Regions from separate parts of the Homo sapiens genome. Here region 1 is linked to region 2. The links are contacts of gene promoters, found by promoter capture Hi-C in blood cells and fetal thymus (Javierre and others, 2016). All regions are on one chromosome and are shown on one strand. Each heading gives the region's core, a stretch centred on a gene start or on the middle of the fragment in contact. The rest is flanking DNA. Distances are from core to core; before and after follow the strand shown.

Region 1 (7,522 bases), core at 3,726-6,225, 1.0 Mb after region 2:
TGCTACAGAAAAGCCTCATTCTCATGATCACCACAGCACTGTTCTCCCATTCGATCACCTTCGTCAGCCTGCCTTCCCTTCTCTGTCAGGTCACAATTCCATTCCACTGGCAAGTTTGCCCATGTGTCAAATATGAATACCCAGTGTTTGGGTTATTACATTGTCTGAACAAAAATGCTGGATTATTAATGAAAATAAAGTGCCTGGGTATGGATTGTTCCATGATGCAAAACCTTTTAATGCACCAACAAATCATCTCAGCGCTGCTTAGTGATGTGATTTGAACAGACTGCAGTCACAAAATAATCTGTCGTACACCCATCACAGAATAAAGGCCCCGTATTTAGGTCAGACTTAAATTATTTTTTAAAAAAGAAACAAATACTCTCACACTCATTTCCAAAGACACACTTGGGATCTGAACGCCTGATTGCTGGCTTTCCCAAGCCCTCCCGAGCAGACACCCTGATCCCTCTAGTCTAGGCAGAGAGGGCTCGGAAAGGCAGCTGGGGCTCCGGTGGCTCACGCTGGCAGGTGAGTCAGCAGGCTCATGAGCTAGGATGATTCGACGCTTCGCCCTCTTGGATGTGGACACATTTCCAACTCCTACCAAAGCCAGAGCTGGAATGCTGCTCTGAGGCTGTCTTGCTCTCCTGTCTTCTTAGTGGCTACTGAGATTTCCCTAAGCAGACTCTTAAATTCTCTATGAACCAAGACCAAACCACATAAACAGAAACGGCCCTAAAGAAAGAAACGCTGGAAAACAGTGACGAAGCCAGCCTGATATGGCTGTGAAGCGATCTCTCCCGCTAGCTTGTCCTTGCCTTGTTCTGCCTGCAGAACGCCAGGGACACTGGAGAGGGGCAGCCGCCCTGTGCCCACCCTCAAGGGCCAGTGCAGGGTGGGGAGGGATGGGGACAGGGCATAGGCCGACTCTCTGGCAGGTTCCAGAGGTCTGTATCTTGCTTAGGCACTTAAAAAACATAAACAAAAATTTATCCTTGAAAAGTACTGCATACCCAACGTGACCATGGCCGTGGAAGGCAGGGCGAGCCCGGGGGGGAGATCATAGAAGGCTGTGGGCTCTTCCAGGGGAGGCAATGATGACGCACATGGTGTCTCTCGGCAGGGGGAGTGTCCTGCCTTGCAGCCAGGGTGTGTCTGAAGACGCCAGTGCTGTGATGGCTCAGGGACCGCAGACTCGGCCCAGCAGAGGCCTTCCTGTGACCGTGCTCTACAGCCCCCCGGGAAGTGGCTAGAAGAGGCAGGGATGGGGAGGCTCCTAGGGCCTGATCTAGACGCCCGCCATGGGTCGGGGAGGCACAGGCTGCACACACTTGCTTTCTAGAGTCACCATGAGGCAACTACTAGGAAAAGAGGAGGCCCTTCCGAGTGCTCCGGCAAAACTGAGGGGCAGTCGGGACGCCCTGCCCAAGCTCCCAGTGCTTCGAAAGAAAAGCTCCACTCCCCCACATCCAGAACTTTGGTTTTGGTTTCATGGTGCCCATTTTCAGAGATGCAGTATTAAGGGGATCACCGATTCTAACATAATGAAATGTGGTTTTCAAGGCAAAAAACAATGCTGCTTGAAAGCAGCCACCGCTGAGCACGTGTCTTCCTGCAGCCCACTCTTCTAACTCTGTGCCTGCCCGCCGTGAATCTGGTTTAAGAACAAAAGAGTTCAATGCAACATCACCAGAGTGGCTGCTGCTTACATTAGTATAACACTAATGTCATTCTGTGTTCGGGCTTAATAGCTCCAACGAATGATGACGTGGAAAAATGACTCTCACGAGTTTACGCTGGGATCTTAGTTCCAGTAACGGAAGAAAAGGAGAGGTTTCTGTGCTCAAAGGAAGCCACAAAACATGACTGAAATTGAGACTCAGCCCGAAGTGACAGGAAGTTGAAAAAGTCTTAAAGGGAAGAAGGAATAAGCCTTGAAACACAAATTCTGTGACTTGTCACTGCCACAGACACTGGTTTGTGAGAGCCATGAGTTCCTTCCGAGGGAGGAATCAAACTGCTCCCATTCCAAAATCCCAATGGCACCCCAGCCACCACCAGATGCAAAATCTGGACCGATAACAAAATGCAAGGCACATATACCTTTTCTCTTTCAAATTAAGGAGGCTTTTTGGGGATTGGAGGTTGGATAATAACGTAACTGTGTACCTATTACAGGTACAGAGGATCCAGGGAGACTCTCACGAGGACCAGTCCACAGCTGTGGCCTTGCTTCTGAGGTGGTTCCAAGATGCCCACGACGGGGCAGAGCAGATCAGAAGAGAAAGACCATGAGAGAGCCAACCCCTAGAGGACCACTTACGTTTGACGGAAAAGAGGTAGACAAGGGAAGGAGGGAAGAAATGTGGAACTTTAGTTAGCTGAGTCCTCAGGTCAGCTTGGTACCCATGTCCCTTGTTCAATGTCCCTGACAAGTTACCACAGTTCCACGTGAAATGTGGCAGGACAGGAACCAGACCTCTACCTCAAAGGAGCTCATGCCTTTGCTGGATTCTGGGTTCTAGAAAGTTCTTACGCTGACCCCAAATCAAGATATGTCTCCAGCAACTGTTATTTCTTGGCAGTCAGGGCCCATGAGGAGGCAGGGAGGCCTGAGGCAGAGCAGACACTGATCTAATTCCAGAACCCCAGACCCCCGGTTTCTAGAGAGGAGGAGGGGCCAGCTGAGCAAGATGCTCCTGAACACAGCAGGAGCCCCGAAGGAACGGCCAGGGTAGCGCTACAAGAGCTGGAGAGAGAAGATGGGAAGTGCAAGAGGGTTTCCTGGTCTCTGCCTTGGCTAACTGCAGGCAAGGGGTGCCGGAGTTCAAGTTCCCCTCGGCCACACAGGCTTCCCACCCTGTCAACCACTGCGGCACCTCCCTGCACTCCTGTCATCATCACTGACCAGGGAGGAAGACTCTGGAGGGGCCCTCACGTCCAGACCCTCACGGAGGGAGTTCAGCTCACAGAGGCGGGGGCGATGCCACAGTGCGCCTGGGAGGCTACCTGGCACTGCTGCGTGAGAAAGCAAACCAGGTTAGTGTTCAGAGAGGGCAGACCATCCTATGTGGTCTGTTCTTTGAAGATGAACGTCCTACTGAAATGAAAGAAATGAGGGGAGACTTGCCTTGCCAAGGGCAAGGTGACTTGCTTGGTGTCGGGTCATGAGGCAGCACACATGTCCAGCACGGTGCCCAGCACACAGTACGTGCTCAGAAAACATGGGCTGTATTGACTTTGAGGTGGTTGGGAGACCTGTGCATTTGTCTCTGTAGTATTATGATTTACAATGGTGGCATCTTTAGTTTCCTATAAGAATAACTAACTTCTGGGGTTTTTGTTCAAAAACCACATATTTCATGGGTAAGCACTGTCTCAATTTTCACTGATTTTGGTAAGCTGAGTTACGGAAAAGGGTGGGCGCTGCTGGTAAAGGAATATATGGTTGGGGTTTTCTGAATCACCAGAGTGGCCTGCAGAAGCATTTGGGAAGGGAGGTGTCTCTCCAACTTCAGTTCTTTTGAAGTAGCACCATCCCTGAAGCAGCACCTCTAATACCTTGATCCCTAAGACAGGGGCTCCATTAGAAGGTTTTAACTGTGGTGTTAATTGTGTTTTCTTTGAGTGTAGGTGGATCATCAGAATGTTCTGCTGACGGTTTTAATGCATGTCTCACAAATCATAGAATTAGACTCATCCAGTCAGCTCTTACCATCTCTAAGCTTAAGACGGATTCTAAATTCTAATGGAGACAGTCATATTTTAGCAGCTGGGAAAATAGGAAAAGGAATGCTCTACTCTTTGAGGTCATAAATCTACAATCATTCCAGTTGTCATAAAGATAGGATCCCAAAGAAAACAGTTTCAACAACTGCATGCATGGATCTTGAATGCCGGTGTGCAAGGGCTGGGTGGGAATGAGGTTGCTTTCAGAGCCTATACGAGGAGGAATACTGAGGGAATACTAGACATTTCTTTGTAGGTATTTTGTGGGGAATGAAAAGATAAGATTCCCAAGCCCTAAGAGCCTTTCCCTAAATTCTCTAGGTGTGTGTATTTTCAGGGAAGAGGAAAATTTTAAATCAGCAGCCTACTTCAGCATTCTCATGAAACTGAATTGCAACTAGCATTTCAACTAGGTTAGGATTCCTTTTGGTATGTGGAGGGGGAAAGATCTGTACAAAGAGAAGCAGCAAAATATGAAAAAAGGCCAGAGCTGTATTCTCCCCAGTGGCTAGCCTAACCAACCCCGGAGTGTCCAGACCTAGAAAAGAAAAGGCTAACGGTCCTGGGCTCACCCAGCACAAGTGCGAGCCTCAAGGGCACGAAACAGCTTACAAAAGGCCATTTGGCACTATGTCTGGTGCTGGTATTCTTGTAGACTCATTCTTGATCATATAATTGAAAAAAGACCTCTGCAAGTGATGGGGGAGAAAAAACAAACCCACATTCTAGGGAAAGGTGAGTTGGTGACTCAGCAGCTCCTGTCTAGTGTGACACTTCTGGAGAAGAGTAGGGGGCCATGGTCAGGGACTGTGTACGGCATCAAGCCCACATGATGTCCCGTGCAACAGGGAGCATGGAAGAGACAGGAGGAAGAGCGGGAGGGAGAGAACATGGACTTGAGTGCCGGGGAGATGCTCACACTGGCACAGCAGAACAGTGGGGAAGACTCAGGGCAACGGCAACGGCGGGAGTGGGGCAGCTGCCGAGTAAGGGGTGTGAGAGGAGCGTACAGACACGTGTCCCGTGCTCCAGTAGCTTTAGAATGTCGTGAATAGTACTCCATTCACGCCTCCACCTGTTTAAAGCCTGTGTTAGTTATATGTGTCCTGTCATGTTGTCTGCTTTGAGTCTTAGGATTCAATGAGGAAACCTCGATTCAATTTTCTGTAAACTTCTGTTTGGGAAATGCTTTCTGATAGTGACGGCAATGGAAATATCAAGCAACCAAGGGAAATCTGAAGATCCCAGAGAGCCCAGCAAGCAGCAACATCCTCGAGTTAGGCAAGCAAGGGCCCGGAGCTGGCCAGACCATGGGCTGGAATGCAGTGGGGGCCGGTCAGAGGGGCTTCTTCTGGGGTCCTGACTGTGGTTTCTGCCAGAGGTGGAGCAAGTTGGAACTGGATGTTGAGTGAAGTTTCAAAGAACTTAGAAGTCAAATGGGGAACAATAATCAAAGGCTTCCATTTTGAAGCTGAAACAACTCCAAATTCTGCTGTTTCACTTAGGGGAGAACACGAGCACCATGTCATTATTTTAGTTTATGGAGCTGCTGTTCCAAATGTTCTTGGGAGCATTAGTGCTAAGAGGGAACAGGGGATGGGAGCGCTGCCATTTCCAATCACATAAAAGACAGAAATTCTTTTAATTATGACCATGCCAATCTACATCCTGCTAAAACAGCTAATTACATGTCAGGAGGACACTCAGTCATTCAGAACAATTGCCATTATATTTTTATATATTCATTCTATGCCACCCCCCTCAATTACCATGGTTACAGTTTGAAAAGATTCAGTCCAACCTTCATTTGATCACAGCACACCAATGTGAATTTGAGAGTTAATTATGGCTATACAGAGCCACTCTTACTTAAAATGAAAATGGAGTCGAGGGAGCCGGCATCCCAAGACTTCTCAAGTGCGAGTCGGGGGGTACATGCCCACGCCAGCCACACCGACCAACTGGAGGGCAGCCGAGCAGGCACGGACACAGCTGTCCAGACCAGGGCCAACCAACCTGCAAACCTGCCACGTGAAAGGAGTGTCAGGAGAGGAGAAAGGCACAGCTCCCCTGCAGCTGCACCCCTCTGGGTGCAGTTACGGGGCTGGCTGATGAGACAGACAATGGGTGTGGCATGTGGGTAGTAAACTGTCTCATGGTGTAAAAATGCTTGTCACATTTCATGTGAACAGAATCAACTAAAAAGTTCTGCCACAAATGTCATAGGAAGAATGACAAAAAAGAGGTTCAGTGATCCGCGTGCCTATAATCCCGAGGCATCTACGTCACTGAGATAAGAAAGGGCAGCCGGCATATCTTCCCTCCCACCCCTCATGTATCTCTTCCCATCTTGATTTAAAACAAAGCCAGTGTTAGAGGAGACTGGAGTTTTCAGATTGTTGGCTTTCTTTTTGCTGCCATTTCTATTCCTCACCAAGAAAGAATAATAAAGCTAATACTGAAACTTCCAATTTACAAGCTTCCAGGTTTGAAAATACATAGATATGAACGAAGTTACCTTTCAGAGATGAGTCAACCACTGGCCCTGCAAGATCACAAGACAGTAGCTTATCACTTTCAATTTATAAGTGGAATGGAGAACAGCCTTTCCAAACATAACCTGTGAGAGGAGTTTCTGTAATCAGAAAACTGACTTGTTGGCTTGTATCCGAGAAGCCTTTCCTATCACCTTAGTATGATAGTTCTCTGGAGAGCTGTGAGGAAATCTTTCTTTTAAAGTGGCGGTCATCTTTGAAACCAAGCATGCATAAGGAAGTAGAGCACAGTACAGGAAAAGAAAGGCCCTCTGCTCTGATCACACACCACCACAACATCCTGACAGATGACCTGGCCATGCACAGCTGCCTCTCCAGGAAAATCTTCCACTCTCATCAGGGAACACTGGACTGGATAACTCAGGTATTCCTAGGTGAAGTAAGTCAGACAATATGGAAATGAAGAAATAAAAAGAGGGCTTTCAGGGCACACAGCTCAGTTTGCCAAATTCAACATGGCTACAACTGATCCCCAAATCCTGAGTAAACACCCTTGCTATTTAATAAGCACAAGCAAAAAAAAAAAAAAAAAAAAAAAATGGAATGCCTTATATGTGTCATTCCCACCCCTGCCCCAGGACATCCCCCCACCCCATCCCACACTCCCCAAAGATACCACCAGCAGGAGCTGGGCAATATGCCCAACTTTCACTTGGGAAATCCTGACAAATCAATCCGGCTCAGTAAAGCTATAAATGGATTTGGCTGGTCTCAACACAGCCCCAATGAATACAGTAGTAAAACATTACTAATAATCACAACAAAATGACAAAATCTATCATCACTCTGACATGATTCAGATCACAGAGATTAACACAGAAACCAACACACAATGGTGAGGGCCAGGGTTCTTCAATGTAGTGTGCTACTGAGCACGGGATCATCAACAAGAAAAATTATTGCCTAAGAATCTGTTGGGACACACTGGGGAGAAAATACTCTGGTCGTTCTCTGAACAACAAAAGACAAAAAACAATTTTAAAAGGCAGAGCCACAAATTAAATGGGAAGACTGCTTGTAACCAAACCCTTCTGAAGACCAGAGAGTAAAGACTTAAGAGTTCACGTTTGTAGGAAGGGGAAGGGAAGGAAGGAGGGAGGGAGAACATCTGTGGGAAAGAGATCATTTCCACTGTTGAGGGCAGAGATGATGAGGCTGGTCAGTGGAATACGTAGCTGGTCAAGACAGGGAGGAGTGTCTGTGTTAAGAGATGGACCACATCCAGCTTTTCC
Region 2 (7,547 bases), core at 4,941-7,440:
AGGGACCAGTTGTGTCCGGAATTGGTGGGTTCTTGGTTTCACTGACTTCAAGAATGAAGCTGTGGACCCTCACGGTGAGTGTTACAGTTCTTAAAGACGGTGGGTCCGGAATTTGTTCCTTCTGATGTTCGGACATGTCCGGAGTTTCTTCCTTCTGGTGGGTTCGTGGTCTCGCTGACTTCAGGAGTGAAGCCACAGACCTTCGCAGTGAGTGTTACAGCTCTTAAAGGTGGCGCGTCCAAAGCTATTCGTTCCTCCCGTCTGGAATTGTTTGTTCTTCCCAGTGGGTTCGTGGTCTCGCTGGCTTCAGGAATGAAGCCGCAGACCTTCGCTATGAGTGTTACAGCTCATAAAGGCAGCACAAATCCAAACAGTGAGCAGCAGCAGCATTTATTGCAAAAAGCAAAATAAGAAAGCTTCCACACCCAGGAAGGGGACCCCAGCGGATTGCCGCTGCTGCTCTGGTGGCCTTTCTTTATTCCCTTATCTGGCCCCACCCACATCCTGCTGATTGGTCCATTTTACAGAGAGCTGATTGGTCCGTTTTGACAGAGTGCTGATTGGTGCATTTACAAACCTTTAGCTACACAGAGTGCTGATTGGTGCGTTTACAATCCTTTAGCTAGACACAAAAGTTCTCCAAGTCCCCACCCGATTAGCTAGACACAGAGGCTGATTGTTGTGTTTACAAACCTTTAGCTAGACACAGAGTGCTGATTGGTGCATTTACAGCCCTTTAACTAGACAGAAAGCTCTCCAAGTCCCCACCGGTCCCAGAAGCCTAGCCGGCTTCACCTCTCACTGGCGCTCTTCGCGGGATTTTGCGGCACTTACCCCGGGTGCTCCAGTAGCCCAGAAGGAGCTTGTCCCAGACAACCAAGAGGAAAAGAGGGGAAGCGAGAAAGAGAGGGAGACCCGCCATTCTGGCCAACGACCCTGCGAAGAGGGAATGGCGGTGCACGCACGGGACCCAGCCTCTGATCAAGCCCAGCAGGCGCCGGCCAGCTGCGCTGAGTGCTGGGCCCGTGGAGCCCGCGCCCACCCGGAACCTGCGCCGGCCCGCGAGCGGTGAGCGCCGGGCGCAGCCCCGGGTTCCGCCCGCGCCTCTCCCTCCACACTTCTCCGGGAGAGGAGGGAGCCGGCTCCGGCCTCGGCCAGCCCCAGAGAGGGACCCCCACAGCGCAGCGGCAGGCTGAAGGGCTCCTCCAGCGCGGCCAGAGCGGACGTCCTGGCTGAGGAGGCGCCGAGAGTGAGCGAGGGCTGCTAGCACGTTGTCACCTCTCACAGTCACTTGAGACCTTAAAAACAGTGTGTCTAAATGTTGTATTTCAAGGACCACCTAAAGCAGAATACTTTGGGATGCCTTCCAAATTCTTGACTGCTACTCCCGACCTTCTGAATTTAGAACTCTTGTGGGTAAAGCCCGGAATCTGAAAAGTTAACAAGAATCTCAAACAATTCCTGTGCAAACTAAAGCAAAGCTTGAAAGTCATTGTCGGAAAAAAGGTAGAATGTCAGTTTTCTCCACCAGTTTTCCAAGGGAACCCTAAATGCTAGTTAATGTCATATCCTTTAAATGTTCTCTATTGTTATGTAATAGCTAATTAGTGTTACCTTTCAGTTTCAATACTTCTTATATGGATGGTTTTCCATTCTCCAAAGTTAAATGGTGGAGATGAGAATGTGGATGAGAGGAAGGGAATTCTTACTTTTTCAGCAGGTGCTATTTGCCTGGTGCTTTAGCATTCATCTCATTTAATCCTCTTCACAATTTTGTAAACTGAGAATTACTAACTCTTACAGGTTGATTCAGAGAAAGCTCAGAGGAAAAAAAATCTTTTTTTGGGTCAGGGTCTCACTCTTGTCACCCAGGCTGGAGTGCAGTGGTGTGATTTCGGCTCATTGTAACCTCTGCCTCCCAGGCTCAAGCTATCCTCCTGCCTCAGCCTCCCGAGTAGCTGGGACCACGGGCATGCACCACTATGCCTGGCTAATTTTTTTTTTTTTTTTTTTTTGTAGAGACAAGGTCTTCTTACGTTGCCCAGGCTGGTCTCGAACTCCTGGGCTCAAGTGATACACCCACCTCGGGCCTCCAAAAGTGCTGGGATTACAGGTGTTAGCCACCGCACCCAGCCCCTCCTGTATACTTTAAATAATCTCTAAATTATTTATAATACCTAATAACAATGTAAATACTATGTAAATAGTTGTTATACTGTATTGTTTACAGACACCAAAAAGTCAGTCACCAGAAAGACCATGTGATTAGAGTGTTAGAGGGTTGGAAATTTCAGCCCACCCACCAACCAACAGGAGAGATCGGGGGCGGGTGGCTGGAGATTAAGCTCTATACAAACTCTTAGACAACAAGATTTCATGAGCTTCTAGGTTGCTGAATACAGGGAGGTGCTGGGAGGGTGGAGTGCCCAGCGAGGGCATGGAAGCCCCATGGCCTTCTTATCTTTGCCCTATCCATCTCTTCATCTGGCTGTTCATCTGTATCCTTTATAAATCCTTTACAATAAACTGGTAAACATAAAATATTTTCCTGGACTGACGTCTGAATTGGGGCAGTCTTGTGGGAGACTGGGCCCTTAACTTGAATTGAGTTATAGGACATCGTGTTGATGTCCTTTAGAGTTGGTTGGTGTGTAGGGAAATACTCCCCCAGCCCCTCTTCTGGTCACAGAACTGCTCTGTGTTTTGTGCCAGTAGAAAGGAGAAAACAGTTTGTTTTTTCCTTTTACAGCCTCATCATTTAGCTCTCAGCTCAAATGGTAATTTCTCAGAGAATCTTTTCTGGGCCATCCTACTTGTTATGGCACTACCTGTCATATTGCTCTGTTTTCTTCTTCAAGGTACTTATTATTATTTGAGATAGAGTCTTGCTCTGTTGCCCAGGCTGGAGTGCAGTGATGCAGTCATGGCTTGCTGCAGCCTCAACCTCCAGGGCTCAAGTGATCCTCCCACCTCAGCCTCTTGAGTGGCTGGGACTACAGGCACATGCCACCACATCTGGCTATTTTTTTTTTTTTTTTGAGACGGAGTCTCACTCTTTCGCCCAGGCTGGAGTGCAGTGGTGCGATCTTGGCTCACTGCAAGCTCCGCCTCTCGGGTTCACACCATTCTCCTGCCTCAGCCTCCTGAGTAGCTGGGACTTAGGCACCCGCCACCATGCCCAGCTAATTTTTTGTATTTTTAGTAGAGACGGGGTTTCACTGTGTTAGCCAAGATGGTCTCGATCTCCTGACTTCATGATCTGCCTACCTCGGCCTCCCAAAGTGCTGGGATTACAGGCGTGAGCCACTGTGCCTGGCCACATCTGGCTAATTTTTTAAAAACAATTTTTTGTGGAGATGGGGTCTTACTATGTTGCCCAGATTGGCCTCAAACTCCTGGTCTCAAGTGATCCTGAGCCTCGGCTTCCCAGAGTGCTGAGATTACAGGTGTGAGCCACCGTGCCTGGCCCAAAGCACTTATTTATTTGAAATGACATGATTTGTTGGCTACCTCTCCCACTAGAATGTTTATTATAACAACCTTTCATCTTTTGTTCATGACTGTCCAGAACTGTACATGGTACATGGTGGGAATCTAAAATAACAAACATTCTCTTGTTAAGGTAATTAGTGATTTCTACATTGCAAAATTCAGAGACCAAATTTTGCTTCAAGCTTTCAGCAACAGTGGACACTGTTGACCATTCTTTCTTTCTCTCAATTACCATATCCTATTGTCCTAGTTCTTCCTCCTTCTTCACCAGAGGTTACTTCTCAGATTCTTTCTAGAATCTTCTGCTTGAGGTTCAAATGTTAGTGTTTCCATAGCCTGGGCCTCCTTTTTTGTGGTATCTCAATTCTCTCATGTTACTGTGTCTCTTCCCACATGTCTTAGTTCATTTTGTGTTGCTATAACAGAATACCTGAGACTGGGAAATTTATAAAGTATAGAGATTTATTTCTTATGGTTCTGGAGGCTGGGAAATCCTAGGTCCAGGGGCCTGCATCTGGTGGGGAGCTTCCTGCTGTGTCATTTCACGGTGGTAGGCAAAAGAGAAAGGGAGCTGAACTCATCCCTTTTATCGGGAACCCACTCCCCAATAACTAACCCACTCCTGTGATAATAGCATTAAGAGCTCTGCCCTCATAACCTAATCACCCCTTAAGAGTCCCCCCTCTCAACACTATTGCTTTGGGGAATAAGTTTCCAACACATGAGCTTTGGGGGACACATTCAAACAATAGCATCATGACATTAAATGCTATCTTTATATTTACAACATAACTACCAAATTTACCTTAGTTTTGAACTTCAGACTTTTACAGTTTATCTATTTATTTGACACGTCTACCTGGATGCCTAATAGTCACCTCAAACTTAACATGTTGAGCATAGATTCTCTATTATCTCTTATTTCAGTCCTTGGTCCCAGCATTGGTTGGTTCCATGCCGAGGCCCCACTGCTCTGCCATCTCTTATTCCACTCTTCCCCTAACTTACTTTGCTTCAGTTATGGCCTTGTTTGCCTCTTGTCCCCCAAATTTTGTTTTATTCACTGCTGTATCCCCAATACTGATAACAGTGCCTGGCAGGTACTGTTAGGTACTAATAGGTGCTCAATATAATAATCTGGTAAACATAAAGTGTTTTTTTGAGTTCTGTGAGCCATTCTAGCAAATTATGGAACTCAAGATGGGGGGTTATGAAAACCCCAATTTATTTGTTGAGAGGGAGTCTCTCTCCATGGTCCAGGTGCAGTGGGGCAGTCTTGACTCACTGCAACTTTCGCCTCCCAGGTTCAAGCGATTCTCTTGCCTCAGCCTCCCAAATAGCTGGGATTACAGGTGTGCACCACCACGCCCAGCTATTTTTCCTATTTTTAGTAGAGGTGGGGTTTTGCCATGCTGGCCAGGCTGGTCTTAAAGTCCTGACCTCAGGCGATTCACCTGCCTTGGCCTTCCAAAATGCTGGGATTACAGGCATGAGCCACCACGCCCGGCCTGGAAACCCTAATTTATAGCTGGTTGGTCAGAAGCATAGGTCACAACCTGAGACTTGTGATTGATGTCTGAAGTTGGGGCCATCTTGTGGGACTGAACTCTTTATAGGATCTGACCAAATAACTCTTCCTCGAAACACAAAGTTAGGGCTTTTGCATCCACTGTTCCCCAGATGGGAAGATGAGTCCCCTGATCTTTGTACGGCTAGTTCTTTCTCATCATTCAGGTCCCAAGCTTCAAAAACCACTTCCTCAGCAAGGCCCTCCCTGAAGTTGTGTCCCCAGGCTCCATTATATCACCCTGTTTTTCATCAATGTTATTACCTATCATTACCTATTATTTTTGTTGTTTAATTGGTATGTCGTTTGTCCTATTCTATTTCAATGAGTACAGGGATCTTGTCTGTACCATCCATGCCTAAAACAGTGCCTGGTGCGTATTAGGTATTCAACATATATTCATTGAATGAATGAATGAATGAATGAATGAATGAATGAATGAAAGAAACCCAAGCCTGCTAGACCTCAAAAGCCCAGAGAACTGTTTTCTCTGGCTGGTTCTTCATTCAGACGATATTTTCTCCTCTTGACATTTTATAGTCTTCCGGCCTCCATGCGCAAGGAACCATGTAAAGGTTCTGAGCCTTGAAACCAGACAATGTATTTCCCTGTTACTTTTCGCTTGAATCTTCTCTGTATTTAGCAACCAGTCATAGAACACTAACCATGTACCAAGCGCTATGCTAAGTGCTGAACACATAGAGCTGAATAAAGCACAGAACTACCCTTGGTACAATTATTGAGGTTTTAATAATACATAATTTGACTACATTTCTTAGATTTCGCGTCGTGACGTTTTCAGCCTCTCAAACTGCATCGCCTACGCACAGAAGCTTCCCGAATCTCAGACGAGACACAACAAAGCTGCGCGCTGCCCTCGCCCCGCCCGCGGGCGCGGCGGCGACAGGCCCTCGGCCCCGCCCACACCGCGGCGCCACGCCTCCAACCCGCCTCCAGCCGTGCCTCCCCAGGCCCTTGGCCCCGCCCACACCGCCTCGCCCCGCCCCAAGCCGCGCTGTGCTCCAGGGGCGGGGGCCCACGGCGGCCACTCACTGAGCCCCACGGGCCGCAGCGGCAGTGACGTAGGGTTGGCGCACGGATCCGTTGCGGCTGCAGCTCTGCAGTCGGGCCGTTCCTTCGCCGCCGCCAGGGGTAGCGGTGTAGCTGCGCAGCGTCGCGCGCGCTACCGCACCCAGGTTCGGCCCGTAGGCGTCTGGCAGCCCGGCGCCATCTTCATCGAGCGCCATGGCCGCAGCCTGCGGGCCGGGAGCGGCCGGGTACTGCTTGCTCCTCGGCTTGCATTTGTTTCTGCTGACCGCGGGCCCTGCCCTGGGCTGGAACGACCCTGGTGAGTGCTGCCAGGGCCCTCAGGCGCTTCGTTCGCCCTTTTCCGCCGCCGTCAGCCGGTGCAGGCTCCCCTGCGTTTCCGTGCGCCGTCTTCCCGGAGCCTGGGTGCCCGGATTCCCCATGTCTGACCTCTTTGCTGTTCGTGCTCTCCCTGGTTCCACTGCTCTTCCCAGGCGTCTTGGGAGGCGGGTAGGGACTGCTCGAGTGGGCGGGGCGGGACGGCTGGAGATCCTTAAGGTCCCCTTTCTCCCTGCCCCGGACTCCCGGAATTTGCCCATTGTCGTCTTTCTCATCTCTGAGTATAACTGGAGAGCTGGACACTCACCTGCGCATCTGCTTTGTTGTTATGGCTGTGTGATGTCATCGTGGCCTGCTGTTGTCATGGCTGCCTGTTGCTATCGCCGGCCGTTGCCTGCCACTGGCAGTCTCTGAGTCACCCTTAGCGGACAGGGCTGCAGACCTCGCAGGTCTGTTAGCAGAATCGCAGATTGCACTCTTTTTTTTTTTTTTGAGTCGGAGTCTCACATTGTCGCCCCGGCCGCACTGCAATGACGTGATCTCGGCTCACTGCAACCTCCGCCTCCTGGGTTCAAGAGATTCTCCTGCCTCGGCCTCACCGGTAGCTGAGATTACGGGTGCCCACCACCATGCCTGGCTATTTTTTTGTATTTTTAGTAGAGACGGGGTTTTACTATGTTGGCCAGGCTGGTCTCGACCTCCTGACCTCGTGATCCACCCGCCTTCATCCTCCCAAAGTGCTGGGATTACAGGCGTGAGCCACCGCGTCTTTATGAGAACCGCTGCCTCTTATCTGACGATTGCAGTGATGTACATCGCGCGGCACCAGCTCTTCCCATTGGCTTTCACCGTAGAGAAGAATTTAAAAAATAATTTTCTCGGTTTTTTTTAGTGATGGTACATGATAAGTGGGTTTTAGGAAAGAGGTTCTTTTATGTCAGTACAGTATTAAAATTGTCTAAAGAATTTTCATGGGATCAGTAATATTCCGTGCAATTAATACGTATATGTCTATATACTTAGATACAGATTTTGACTTTTTCCATGTAATAAATGACGCATGCTGTTACTTTGGAATTCTGTAAAAAAAAAAAAAAATGAAAACAACATCATTTTTGCTTTG

The links. Contacts are between HindIII fragments. The CHiCAGO score rates a contact against its expected background, and 5 or more counts as called.
Region 1: a fragment that was not itself captured here is called in contact with the fragment with the promoter of SARAF in region 2 in 1 of 17 cell types (total CD8 T cells); the score reaches 5.9 in total CD8 T cells.

The regions. Positions count from the first base shown.
Region 1 is chr8:29,055,232-29,062,753 of GRCh38, reverse strand. No RefSeq gene overlaps it. Among named protein-coding and RNA genes, the nearest start is that of HMBOX1, 170 kb to the right of the region's middle. RefSeq lists enhancers at 1,297-1,416, 1,447-1,496, 1,557-1,606, 1,647-1,786, 5,084-6,283. The HindIII fragment of the contact is 2,483 bases long and covers 3,734-6,216 here.
Region 2 is chr8:30,081,707-30,089,253 of GRCh38, reverse strand. SARAF (store-operated calcium entry associated regulatory factor) reads left to right here and starts at 6,190. Exons shown (of 6, transcript NM_016127.6): 1 at 6,190-6,407. The coding sequence starts at 6,305. RefSeq lists a silencer at 5,867-6,236 and an enhancer at 6,277-6,626. The HindIII fragment of the contact is 3,638 bases long and covers 5,895-7,547 here.